Linked DNA regions of Homo sapiens: region 2 is linked to region 1. Evidence: promoter capture Hi-C in 16 types of primary human blood cells and fetal thymus (Javierre and others, 2016). All regions are on one chromosome and are shown on one strand. The core of a region is centred on a gene start or on the middle of the fragment in contact, and the rest is flanking DNA. Distances in the headings are between cores, read along the strand shown. Region 1 holds the start of LCA5 (lebercilin LCA5). Region 2 has its middle 44 kb from the start of IRAK1BP1.

Region 1 (6,317 bases), core at 1,896-4,395:
AGGCTACTAGCTTTTTGTACTGCAAAATCAAGTATTCATAGCAATCAGATTAGACTACATTTGTTTTCATCAGAGCAGCCCACTTTCTAGGTATGAAATTATACTATTTATTTATTTTATTTATTTATTTATTTATTTTTGAGACGGAATCTTGCTCTGTTGCCCAGGCTGGAGTGCAGTGGCGCGATCTCGGCTCACTGCAACCTCCGCCTCCCGGGTTCATGCCATTCTCCTGCCTCAGCCTCCCGAGTAGCTGGGACTACAGGCACCCGCCACCACGCCCAGCTCATTTTTTTGTATTTTTATTAGAGACAGGGTTTTACTGTGTTAGCCAGGATGGTCTTGATCTCCTGACCTCGTGATCCACCCACCTTGGCCTCCCAAAGTGCTGGGATTACAGGCATGAGCCACAGCACCCGGCCAATTATACTGTTCTTTACACCCAACTCAACCAATCCATTCGATTTCTCTTAAACATGCAGCATATTAGATACTGTTTCAAATTTAGTGTTATATGCTAAAACCAACTATTTACCTAGAATCTATTAATAAATTTAAAATTTCCAAGCAACATGAGATCAAGAAGTTAGAGAAAAAATTTTTGAATTTTTGTTATGTATCACATTTCTGTAAATTATATAAAATTGTGACACTGCTTTTCTTCTTTTGTAGAATGGTATGAAATAGATGACTGAACTTTAGCTAAGGATAATTATACTTATGTGCTTTCCAAGATACTATATATAGTATGTCCCCCCACTTTACAAATTATGGTCATTGTAATTTCTCTGTCTACAGTTAGAGAGTCTATTTATCTACCTATTACTTTTTTGAAACTTCTAACCAACCATTCAAACTCGACACTAGTTTCCCCAAAGGAAAATGAGAATAATCCTACTAGTAAGCATTTGTAGGAATATTTTAGTTACATTATAACATCTACATCATTGCCATATGGCAATAAAGAAGCCAATCAAAGTCCTACAGAAAATGAACATTCAGTTAGCAATGTAGCAAATCTGGAGATATTGCAGTATCAATGGAAGAAGCCCAGGATATTAAAAATAAAACTCCAAAGTGCTTAATGACCATTGCAGAATTTGTTTCATAAACAAAATCTTTAAAAACAAGAGTCTGATTTCTGTTAACTATAATTTCAAGTGGCAGAAATATAAATGTGGTTTTGATAACTTTGTTTCCTTTATTTCTGAAAAGCAGAATCCTGTGTGGTACTGAAATAAAATGTCAAATGGTATCTTAGAAAATTCTAGCCCTATCAAAAATAATATATAAAACCATGTAATGTCATAAAACTTTTAAAACTGCTTTCTCATATTTTGGGGTAACCTTTTAAAATGGTAATTCAATAAACTAGTTTTTACTTCTGTAAATTTATACATTTTTTGGTCTTTTTTCAAGGTCAAACTGATACTGTTATTTTGAATATGAGGGGGTGAATAAAATTGCACACTGTAAGAATCCTGAGACTATGTTACACACAACTAGACAATTTTTTGGATTCTCCCAGCGTCTTAAATATTTTCTTGCTTACCAACAACTTCTTAACCTGTAGGTGAAACACAATGAAGGCACTAAATCCGAAACCACGAAATTTGGAAGCAGACCTAGGCTTGTACTCTGGCATTACTACTTACTACTTTCGTACCTTGTGGTAGATACTTTAACTTCTCTGAATCTGCTTTCTCAAGTATAAACAATGAATAACAATACCTGTCTGGAGTCATGAATGAAGATGGAATGAGATTACACTGCCTGGAGCATTCTGAGTGCTGAATAAATGGTGGTTTCATTCTCAGCTCTCCTTCAGCAATCCTGATCTGACGCTCCTGTGACAGACATTTGTCCACGTAAATACGGTATGTTTTCTGATTCTTCCTAGCAACTTCCTTTATAAGTAATCCACCCATACATTTACATGTTAATTCTAACAGAGTCCATAATAACGAGTGAGCTATTTTAACAGTGTCAGCAGAGACAGATTAAAGAATTGATGAAAAGTAATTCCGTGCAATTTAGGGATTACTCATCTTATTTTCACTAACAGATGACTGCCATCTTGTACAGATGTATTTCGCATACAGAAAATTACATTTAATCACAATATTGTTTGGGTGGGTTAGTCTGTAACTTGAAGTAAAATGTATTGACAGGATAAAATGAAAGCTTTGAAACAGTGCAAAGGTGGAAAAACGAGGTTGAGCGAGAAGCAGGAATTACCAATCTTCATGGTTAGAAGATTCATTAAACGCATTTGCCTTCAAATATTAGATTCTCTACAGAATGGTGGTAAAAAGGCCAGTGAGAAATTAACAATAGTGAGAACACCAGAGTAGTGTTAAACCACCTTGATAATCAGATGGCTCGGAGCAGTTTAAAGCCCTCACGAAAGAGGATTTTTTTTTACCTTCCCTGTCTCCCGCAATTAATGCCATTTCTAAAAGAGAAAATATGTCACACATCAGCGCTCAATAGGCTGACATGCTCCTCAAAACGTTCCTTAAAAAAAAAAAAAAAAAAAAAAAAAAAAAAAAAAAACTTGTGTGCAAATATTTCAGATGCCATTCCACCCCAAACCCGTTCCAAAACCTAAAAATCACTTTCAAGCCAAACTCACGGCTCGTTGGTGATTCACAGCCAGGATCTCGAGGCAGGAACAATAGTGCACTCACCCCGCATCCTCCTGAATCAGCCATTTCGGTAAGAAGATCCAGAAGCACTAGCAGTTTGTTTGTAATTTGTTTACAATTTAAAAGCAAGTTATTTCCCAAAGGAAATCTAAGCAATTGTTAAGTGTTTTACATTACGCAGTCGCCAATTTTACAATTCATATCATGAACCCACTTTGCCCTCCGCCCGCGTCCCTCTCGGAGCCCACGACGCTCAGCAGTCGAGCCCTGGCACCGCACAGCCCGTAGGAGCCTGGAGCGCTCCGCGTTTTGCCCCAATTTCCCTACTTGGGGGTCTCCGCTACAGCTAGAGCGGTCGGCCAATGGAGACCTTCTCCCGCACTCGCCGTCCCGCCTTCCAGTTCCACTGAAGCCAATAAAAAGGGCCGTCTGGAGACAGAAGCCAATGGGAGCTCGGGTAGAGTCATCATGATTGGCTGCGGTCTCTTCGTAGTGCAGTCTAGGCCTCCGCCTCCGTTACCCTGGAGCCCAGGTTACCGCCGCTGCCACCCAGGAGCCCCGATCCTCGCCTCTGTCCCATCCTTGTGTTCAAACCTCCCGCATCTCGGCAACCTCGGCACCCGCCCGGCAGCCTCCGCAGGAACCAGGCACCCGCTCTTTGGCGGTCAGACGCCGAGGCCCCAGCTGGGAGTTTGGTCCTAAGAGGGAAGGCAAGGAGGCGGGACGCCGCATCGGCTCTGCTGAAGAGCCTGCGGGTTGGAGGTGGGCTTTGAAGTGGGCGTGGAGACGGCGGGGGAGGTGGAGGTGCGAGGTGAGGCTGGGTTGAAGCGTCTGGTAGCTAGTGAAGGGGCGTTCGTGGATGGGGGCCTGCGGGTGGTTCTTAAAGCAGGGAAGATGAAGGGATTAGGGATGGGGGAGGATGTAGGGACCGCGAGGAGAAGGAAGACCTAGGAAAATGAGTAAAGAGCTCGGCTTCTGAGAGGGTCCCGAGGAAGGGAGGTTGACCGGCACTGGGGGGACTGGGAAGTTAGGAGGAGAGGAGCTGGGAAAGGGTATTTACTTCCTGGGACCGAGAAGAGAAGAAAGGGAGCAAGCGGATCTAGAGAAGTGGTTGTTATTAAAACAAACAAAACAAAAACCCCGGAGGCCCGTGGAGACTCAAGACTAGAGAGGAGGGGCAGGGCCAAGGGCCAAGACGGAAAAGGAGGCTTTGGTAGCTCTCGGATAATAATAGATGTGTTATTATTAAAACTGTGGTTAGAGTGGAAAGCCGTACTTGTCCAGGCTGTGATACTTCTATACATCCTTCAGGGATGGGATGAGAGGAGTAAAGATGGTTAGAAATAAAAGAAAAAAGAAAGTGCCTTTTTGGCATACTCGAGTTGGAGTCGGTACTCAGATACGTGATGTTTACGTTAGATAGACCGTGGGATAGTGTTTAACAGTGAAGAGCCCTGGTCCAGTTCATCTGATATAAACCCCTTTTTTGTTCACTTTGTTCTTTGGAAAGTATACTTGGGCACATACATATTTATTCCCCTCCTTTATCTTCACGTTAAGAACTTGCATTAGAGATATCTTTGCAATCAGAAGTCATCATTTAGTTTTTGGCAGAGGGAGTGGCTATATGTGTTTTAGAATGGTAAAACCGATGTTTCCAGTTCTTTACTCATTCCCTCTTTCTTTTGCATGGTTATTTTAATCTATGTTTTTTTCCAGTTGTTCCACATTTAAATTCTATATTACCATTTTAAATATTTCACTTTGTGATTTCCCATGTTAGCTAGTATGTTTATCCAAATAAGTTATAGGAAATAATAGTTTGTTTTGATTCTCTAAGTTGACAAAGTATCATTTTAAATATCAAAAAGTAGTTTGTGACTTTGGAAAAGAGATTTTTCTTCTTTTGTGAGTCACATCTCTTCCGTTACACATATTGTGGAACTATAATTCTGTAGGACACAATGGAAGCCCATTAAATAAAGATGCTACCCTTCTCTTGGGTTCTTCATCTGCCTGTCATTCTTCAACTCCTTTGTGGGATCTTCTTCCTCGGCCCACCATATTTCATTATTGTTTTTCCCAATAATCCAGTCTTCAGTCTTCCGTCTTCTATTTTTTACTCTGTGTTCTTGGCTGTGTTCTTCCTCTCCTTTGGCTTACACTATTTGTGTTTTATTAACACTCTCCCAATTTTTTATTTCTGATCTGGAACTTTTGAGTTACTGTCAAACTTTTGTAGCTAATTTTTGGTATTTCCACATAAATTTCCTATCCATAGGCATCCCAAACTCAGTATGTCCAATATTGAACCCATCACCTTTCCCTGCCAAAGCTGTCCTGCTTGAATACCACATTCTCCTAATTTTGCAAGCCCAAAACTTTGGAATTTACTCAAGTTCTTCTCTATTCTCAGACTTCATATTTAATCTGTCACCAAGTGTAGTTTATCTTACTTGAAAAACATTTCTGGAATCAGTTCCGTACTCTGTATCTCTAGTTATACTACTTTCAAAACACTGTCTGTCAGTGATTATCGAGACCAATTGATATTCTTCCTCCAGCTTTCCTGCCCTCCAATTCTTAGATTGGAGATGGATCCTTGCAAATGTCAGATCTGATAATATTAACCCTACTGAAGAGCCTTGGTTTCCAACCAACTTATTAATGACATAGAGATTCTTCTTGTGATATTATCTTCCACCCGATCCAGTCCCACTTATTATTACTTTAGCACTACTCCCCAGCCAGTGCCATCCTTTTAAACTAGCATTGTCCATTTGAAATAGAATGTGAGCTATATCCATTTTTTTCAGTAGACACACAATAAAATACAGGTGAAATTTTAATGTATTTTTAAGTCACATATATCCAGAATATTATTTTAGCATATGTCAATGTAAGAAAGATTATAGAAGAGCTATTTTATGGTCTGTTTTATGTACTAAGTTTTCAAAATTCCACATGTATTTTACACTTGCCGCATATGCCAATTCTGAATAGCTACATTTGAGGTGCTCAGGAGCCACTGTATTGGACAGCACAGTTGTAAAGTATTTGCAGTTTGGTGATATGCCATGCTTATCTAATGCCTTTTACTTTTGCAAATGCTGCATCCTCTTATTGAGACAGGGTCGTACTTCACTGTCTTCTTTTTCTAACCTCATTTACCCCCCCACTTTTCAAACACACACATCCATGAAATTATAATTGTGCTTAACCTCTGCTAATACCGTAAGACTCAATTTAGGCATTATCTCCTCTAGAAACCTTCTCAAACTCCCTCTGTCCTCTAATCTTAGTTCTGAGTTTACTAAGCTTTCTCTGCTTCCTTTTATCATTAGTACTTATAGACTGTCGCATTATTTTTTTTTCCTCTTGGTTGGGAATTACTTAACGGTAAAGGATCAGTTGTATTTTACTCATTTTTGTATCTTCAGCTCCATCTATAATCTAGCGCCTGACATTTCATAGGTGTTCAGTAAATGTCTTATAAATGAATAAATGAATGAATGAACATCTTAGGATGTTTTCATTTGACTGACTAAACTTTGGGAATATGTACTGTACTTAAGATGTTTTAATTTGATCCATTGTTTAAAATGTTTAAAATAAGCTGATTATGTCTTACATTTCAAATGTAGCATTTACTGTGATCTGATTGATCAT
Region 2 (6,317 bases), core at 2,400-4,899, 630 kb after region 1:
TTATCTTCAAAATTAAGATTCATTTTCAGGCAAGATGTTTTAAAAAGTTAATCTTTGGGTTAACCTTTTCATAATTCTTGTCAGTTGAAAGGCAAGTTAACAAACACTCTTTTTCTCCAGTTTTAAGATTTTTTTTTCAATGTTCTTTTGCAAGTTATTAAGATTACCTAGTAGTGAGTTAATTAATTTATTAATGTGCTAATCATCAATTAAAGCAAGCTTCTTTTAATTTAGTGGAATGGTTAAAATGATCTATATTACAAGTGAAATTTGTAACATTTTGGAACATATCATATGACCTCATATTTTGGAACACTTCATATGACTTATGCATTTTAGCTTAGTATAATGTTGTGATGATTACAAATATAGATTCTATATTCTGTCATATGTGGTTACTAAGAAGCAACTAGCAAATGTCAAAAGCATAACAGTATATCATCTGTTCACTTCCTATTTGCTGCTCACTATTTTATTTTACCCAATATCAGTATTTTTCCAAGAATTTTAACAAATGCCCATTTTCTATTCCTTTGATATAAATAGTTGAAATACTCCTGGAGTGAAAAAAGTAGAGGTTTCACTGTAAATAGCCATTAATTAGTTCACTCTCATCACTTTTTAGTCTAAACTGTATTTTAAAGATGCAGTCATCTTCTCAGCAATGACTTTTTTTTTGAGACAGAGTCTCGCTCTATCACCTAGGCTGGAGTACAGTGTGTAATCTTGGCTCACTGCAACCTCTGGCTCCTGGGTTCAGGTGATTATTGTGCCTCAGCCACCCAAGTAGCTGGGATTACAGGTGTGTGCCACTATGCGCAGCTAATTTTTATATTTTTAGTACAGATGGGGTTTCACCGCATTGGCCAGTCTGGTTTTGAACTCCTGACCTCAAGTGATCCACCTGCCTCGGCCTCCCAAAATGTTGGGATTACAGGCGTGAGCCACTGCGCCCGGCCCCAGTAATGACTTGTACTTTTTTTTTTTTGAAACAGAGTCTTGCTCTGTTGCCCAGGCTGGAGTGCAGTGGTGTGATCTCAGCTCACCACAACTTCAGCCTCCAGGGTTCAAGGGATTCTCCTGCCTCAGCCTCCCGAGTAGCTGGGACTACAGGTGCATGCCACCACGCCTGGCTAATTTTTTTTATTTTTAGTAGAGATGGGGTTTCACCGTGTTAGCCAGGATGGTCTCGATCTCCTGACCTAATGATCCGCCTGCTTTGGCCTCCCAAAGTGCTGGGATTACAGGCGTGAGCTACCGCACCCGGCCATGACTTATACTTTTATGGAATCAATCATGATTTTGCAGTCCATTTTAGACCATGACACACACACATACACACCCACATATATATGCTTATAGATCCCTTATGAATTATAAACATTCAAATATTTATGTAATAAATTTAATAAATTGCAGATATTGTATATAAGTGTAAACATGGATAGTACATTTCTCTTTAACAAATCAAGAGCCTGGGTGCTAATATATTTTTTTCCACATTTCTGGTGGCATATTCTTTGTCTCTTCATACGATAATAATTTGTAATATTTCAAAGATTTATTCACGTTTTTACATAAGGTAAAATTCATTCATTTTTATTGCTATATAATATTTATTGTGTGAAAACATCACAATCTAACCATTCTGTTGCCAGTAGACATGGTGGTTGTTTCCACCTTTTGCTATTAGGAACAAACCTGTTATTGACAACATTTCCTGTAGTTCCTTTGTATCACTGCAGCTCACTCCCTGCACTGTTGCTGGTGGTGGTGGTGGTGTGTATGTGTGTATACACATTTATGTGTGTATACAGCAAATCCAATTCTGATCATGTTATTACTTAAAACTCTTCAGCTGGTGGCTTGGTACCACCAGGAATAATATTCCAGATGGCCTAGAATGACTTCAAGATACATTATTGTACTTATATAGCAATTGCTACAGAAACTCAAGCAATTTTTTTGATGCTACACATCAAAATAATGATGTTGTGAAGTGGGTTTGCTACCCCTTCCACTTTCTTTTGTCAGCAGAACCTACTCTTGTCCCTCTTTGCTCTCTATTCTGGCACTATAGAGAGTCTAAATCTGATCAGATGTAAAAACGAATCTCTTATCATCAAACTTTTCCAGGAAAAATAAAAAGGAAATCCTCTTCTGGGAAGTTGTCCCAGAAAAAGCTATAATGGTGAAAAAAGCATGAGAGGAGTCACATGTCCCTGGTCTTTATGAATTGCCAAGTCAATTTTCTGGATCTCTTTGCATATCTAAAAAAGGCAAGTATGATTCCTGTATGGCCTGCCCTCTGGAGTGGTGTTGAGGATCAAAAAACAAAACAAAACAAAGCTTCCATATATTTCACACTTAGTGAACACCTGCTATGTCCCAGTCACTGTACTAGGTACAGAGACAAAAACCAACAACAACAATAAGGGTGCCTGTCTGAGTTCTCTGCATCCTGGCCATGTAGATTGACAGATTAAACTCTCTTAGCCTCTATATGCTCGCTTGTAAATGACGAGGGTAACAGAAGCTACTTCACATGGTAGTACAGTATTCATAACATCTACTTAACCCAGTGCCCGGTACAGAGTACTCAGATAATAAATTGCTGGGAATGAAGTGAGATAAATAGGTAACTAAATAGCTACAGTAGTGATCTTGACTACATTGGAGAGAAACATGCAGCTGCTGTAAGATACAAAAGGGTCATCTAATTCAGCTGAGGTGGCAGTCCTGCAGGATATGATGTTATCAGTTTTCAACTTAAAGGCGAGTAAATCATCCAGAGAAACTGGATAATTTCATTTTATTGATGTTTTTGCACAATAAAATAAAATCCAGAAAAACTGGTGAGGCAATGGGGATGAGTAACATCCCAGATGTGGGATTGTGTTTCATTCCCCTGGAGCAGGAGAGAAGGATCAAGACTGGGGAATATAAAGGGATCGGATCTTGAGGTGCCTTGAAAGGGGCAGAGGAGGTTGACCTCGGTCCCTTTGACCATCAGGAGACACCAAAAGTTCTAAGCTGGGAAGAACGCAATCAGAGTCGCATTTAAGTTAGGTCACTGCGTTCTGGCATGGATTTGCCCTGACCTGATTTTGACACTGGAGTAGGTAATTTGCGGGGGAGGTGGCCCGGTCTCAAGCAGTCGCGATAGGAATGGAGTAGGAGCCTGAGAGGAAGTTAGGGGAAAGAGGTAAAATCTACAGCTGCTGGCAGCAGAAGGAAGGCGGAGGCTGCAGAGGACACGAAGGCCATCCCGACCCTTGGCAATAAAGGGCATAGGAGGGAAGTGTCAAGACCTAGGCATGGGCGTCACCGCACAAGATAAAGCTCAGTTGGACCGCGGTAGATTTCGTCCAGGACCCGGTGCCAGTAGGCCAAGGAGCGGTTCAGACCCCTGCAGCAGCGTCTTGGGGTGCTAACGCCCTCCGCTGTTGGTGCGCGGCTGTCCCAGCACGGAGCGCGCACCCAGCAATCATGACAGCGCGGAGCGCCCTGGAACTGCGACAGGGCGGAGGTCGGGAGGGTGTGCGTGTCTGGGGCAGTCCCAGCCGGCGAGAAGCGCGATTCAAGCATCCGCGGTCCTTGCGGCCGCCGCCTGCGCCCCACGCCGAGGTGAGGAGCGGGAGCCCGGGTCATCCGCCGCCACTCCAGGAAAGGCTCCGCCCTCCGCGCCGAGAATGCGCCCTTCTGCCCGGGCTTGATATCACTTTTTCTTGTTACGACCTAGTCCATTTCCTTAGGTATTTTGTAGCTATCGCACGACCTAGGTCTACGTTGTATAATTCGTCAAACAGTAACTATTGTTTCTATGGGAAATCAGTTTTTCAAATGTTATCAGTCTACTGTTTTCCATGAATAGTTTACTCTTCGGGGATTCTGTTCTGATGCTGATTCCTGAGCTAAATTCTTGGATTTGTATTTCCCTTGAATATTCCAAAATATCCTGGACTATGGTGGACACACAGACTTTCAATAAATTCTTGAGAATCCATCGCGTTTTTTATGCAGAGGAAAACCAGTATCCTCTTTCTCCTTCCTCTTGTAACTGATAGGCCCTCGCCCGTCCTCCCTAGGCCATCCTGCCGTGCCCTCCGTCCAGTCCCCTTTTCCCCTCCCCGAGCAGGCATTCCCTCATCCCCTGTCATGGACCTTGCACCATCATCCTAATTAGCAACTAAGTCCAGTTTCTCTCCATTACAGTCTGGCAACCCTCCTCTCCCGTGAAACTCCGAAGGGTCATCGTTAGTATTATTCAGACAAATGTCAAGGCCTGCCTTTCAGACTCCTTGTGTCCATGTTTGTGACCCACCTGAACTTTTTCATTGTTTCCCTTCCACCCTTTTCCTGTATTTTTGTGGGAAACAGAATACTGTAATGAAAAGATGCCATTAAAAAATTATGAAAAATATCCAACATATAGAAATAACATCACTGATTCTGCTGAGAGTGAGCAAAAAAAGAAAAGAAATAACATCAAACATCTGGTCTGTATTCAAATTTCCAAATGTCTCCTGCTATAAATATTTGTTGATTTAGCGTGTTTGAATCAAGATCCAAATAAACTCCACACATTGTAATTGGTTCCCATGTGTCTTAAAGTAATTCATAGGTTCCCTTGGCATCTGGACTTCATCTTAGCCTATGTACCACTTTTTATTGTTGCTGGAGCAAATTAAAGGCCCTTCTCCTAGTGAAATGTGGGGACCCAGCAGTGCTGTTCAGATTTAGAGTTGTGCAATTCTGCATTTGTCATGCCCTTAAATAGCCCAGCTTTTCGGCTTGGAATCAGGAAGTGAAAAGAGCATACAAATACATGTCTCTTTAATTATGTTTTCATTCAGGGGAACGTTGAAGTACTTTATGAAAATTGCTGAGAGAAGCTAGGTTAAAATCTTTACATTTCAGGGAAAGAGAAGGAGGCTGTGCTAAGCTTCAGGCCAATCTGATACAACTGCTCCTTGATTCACCATGAGATTATGTCTGGATAAACTCAATGTAAATTGAAAATATTGCTAAGTCAGAAGTGTGTTTTTGACTTAGGATATTTTCAACTTATAATGGGCTTGTCTGGACATATTCCTGCCATAAGTGGAGGTATATACTGAATGTGTATGGCTTTTGCACCACCATAAAGTTGAAAAATCATAAATTGAACTATCGTAAGTTAGGATCATCTGTATTTGCTTGCTTCGCCATCTTAAATCATTAGTTTTCCTTCTCAGTATACACTTTTCCCTCTTATCACTTCATATTTTCTCTGTAGTCCCAAGACTGGCCTTTCATGCTATTACTCCTCACAGTTTCTGATCAACGTTCTAATGCCAAAGGCTGGCTGACAAATCATCAAGGATGCTGTAGAAGAGGTTTGAGATTAGACAGAAGGTGGGCCCAGAATTGATCCTATCTATCTCCTTCAGCTCTAGGACTGCACATACATCAAGAAATAAACCTGTTGTTGGGAAAGAACTTGAAAGGCAGATGATGACTCACCATCTTCTACCTATTAGACTACTGTTGGTGAAGAGTCAGCTGAGGGTGGCTTAAAAAAATATTGCACATTGATTTTCCACCCCATTATGTGTCTAAACCCAGAAGTTCTTCTGGTAGATGTGCACACGCTAGCAATATGTAGGCACCTATTGAACACTGACCAATGAGTGCCATCTTGGCTGAGTCTGGTGGCTTACACCTGTAATCCTAGCACTTTGGGAGGCCATGGTGGGAGGATAAGCTGAGGCCAGGAGTTTGAGACCAGCCTGGGCAACATAGTGAGACCTCATCTCTACTAAAAATAGGAAAATTAGCCAGGTGTGTTGGTTGAGTCTTAGCTACTCAAGAGGCTGAGACAGGAAGATCACTTGAGTCTGGTGTTCAAGGTTACAGTGAGCTATGATGGCACCACTGCATTCCAGCCTGGGCAACAGAGTGTGACCCTGCTCTAAAAAAATAAAAAATAATGGCCGAGTGTGGTGGCTCACGCCTTAATCCCAGCACTTTGGGATGCTGAGGCGGGTGGATCACGAGGTTAGGAGTTCAAGACCATCCTGACCAATATGGTGAAACCCCATCTCTACTAAAAATACAAAAAAATTAGCCAGGCATGATGGCGGGCACCTGTATTCCCAGCTACTCGGGAGGCTGAGGCAGGAGAATTGCTTGAACCCGGGAGGCAGAGGTGGCAGTGAGCCAAGATTACACCAATGCACTCCAGCCTGAGCAACAGAGTGAGACTCTGTCTCAAAAAATAGATAAATAAATAAATAAATAAATAAATAAAATAAAAAATAAAAGGCCGGGTGCAG

What was found. The method cuts DNA at HindIII sites, captures the fragments that hold promoters and counts their contacts. A CHiCAGO score of 5 or more calls a contact.
Region 2: a contact is called between a fragment that was not itself captured here and the fragment with the promoter of LCA5 in region 1, in 4 of 17 cell types (monocytes, M1 macrophages, M0 macrophages and 1 more). The highest score is 8.7, in monocytes.

Annotation. Positions count from the first base shown.
Region 1 is chr6:79,534,258-79,540,574 of GRCh38, reverse strand. LCA5 (lebercilin LCA5) reads left to right here and starts at 3,145. Exons shown (of 8, transcript NM_001122769.3): 1 at 3,145-3,410. It also overlaps a transcript of SH3BGRL2 not described here. RefSeq lists enhancers at 1,528-2,101, 2,632-2,681, 2,676-3,249. The HindIII fragment of the contact is 3,782 bases long and covers 2,187-5,968 here.
Region 2 is chr6:78,908,006-78,914,322 of GRCh38, reverse strand. It overlaps a transcript of IRAK1BP1 not described here. Among named protein-coding and RNA genes, the nearest start is that of IRAK1BP1, 44 kb to the right of the region's middle. The HindIII fragment of the contact is 2,596 bases long and covers 2,352-4,947 here.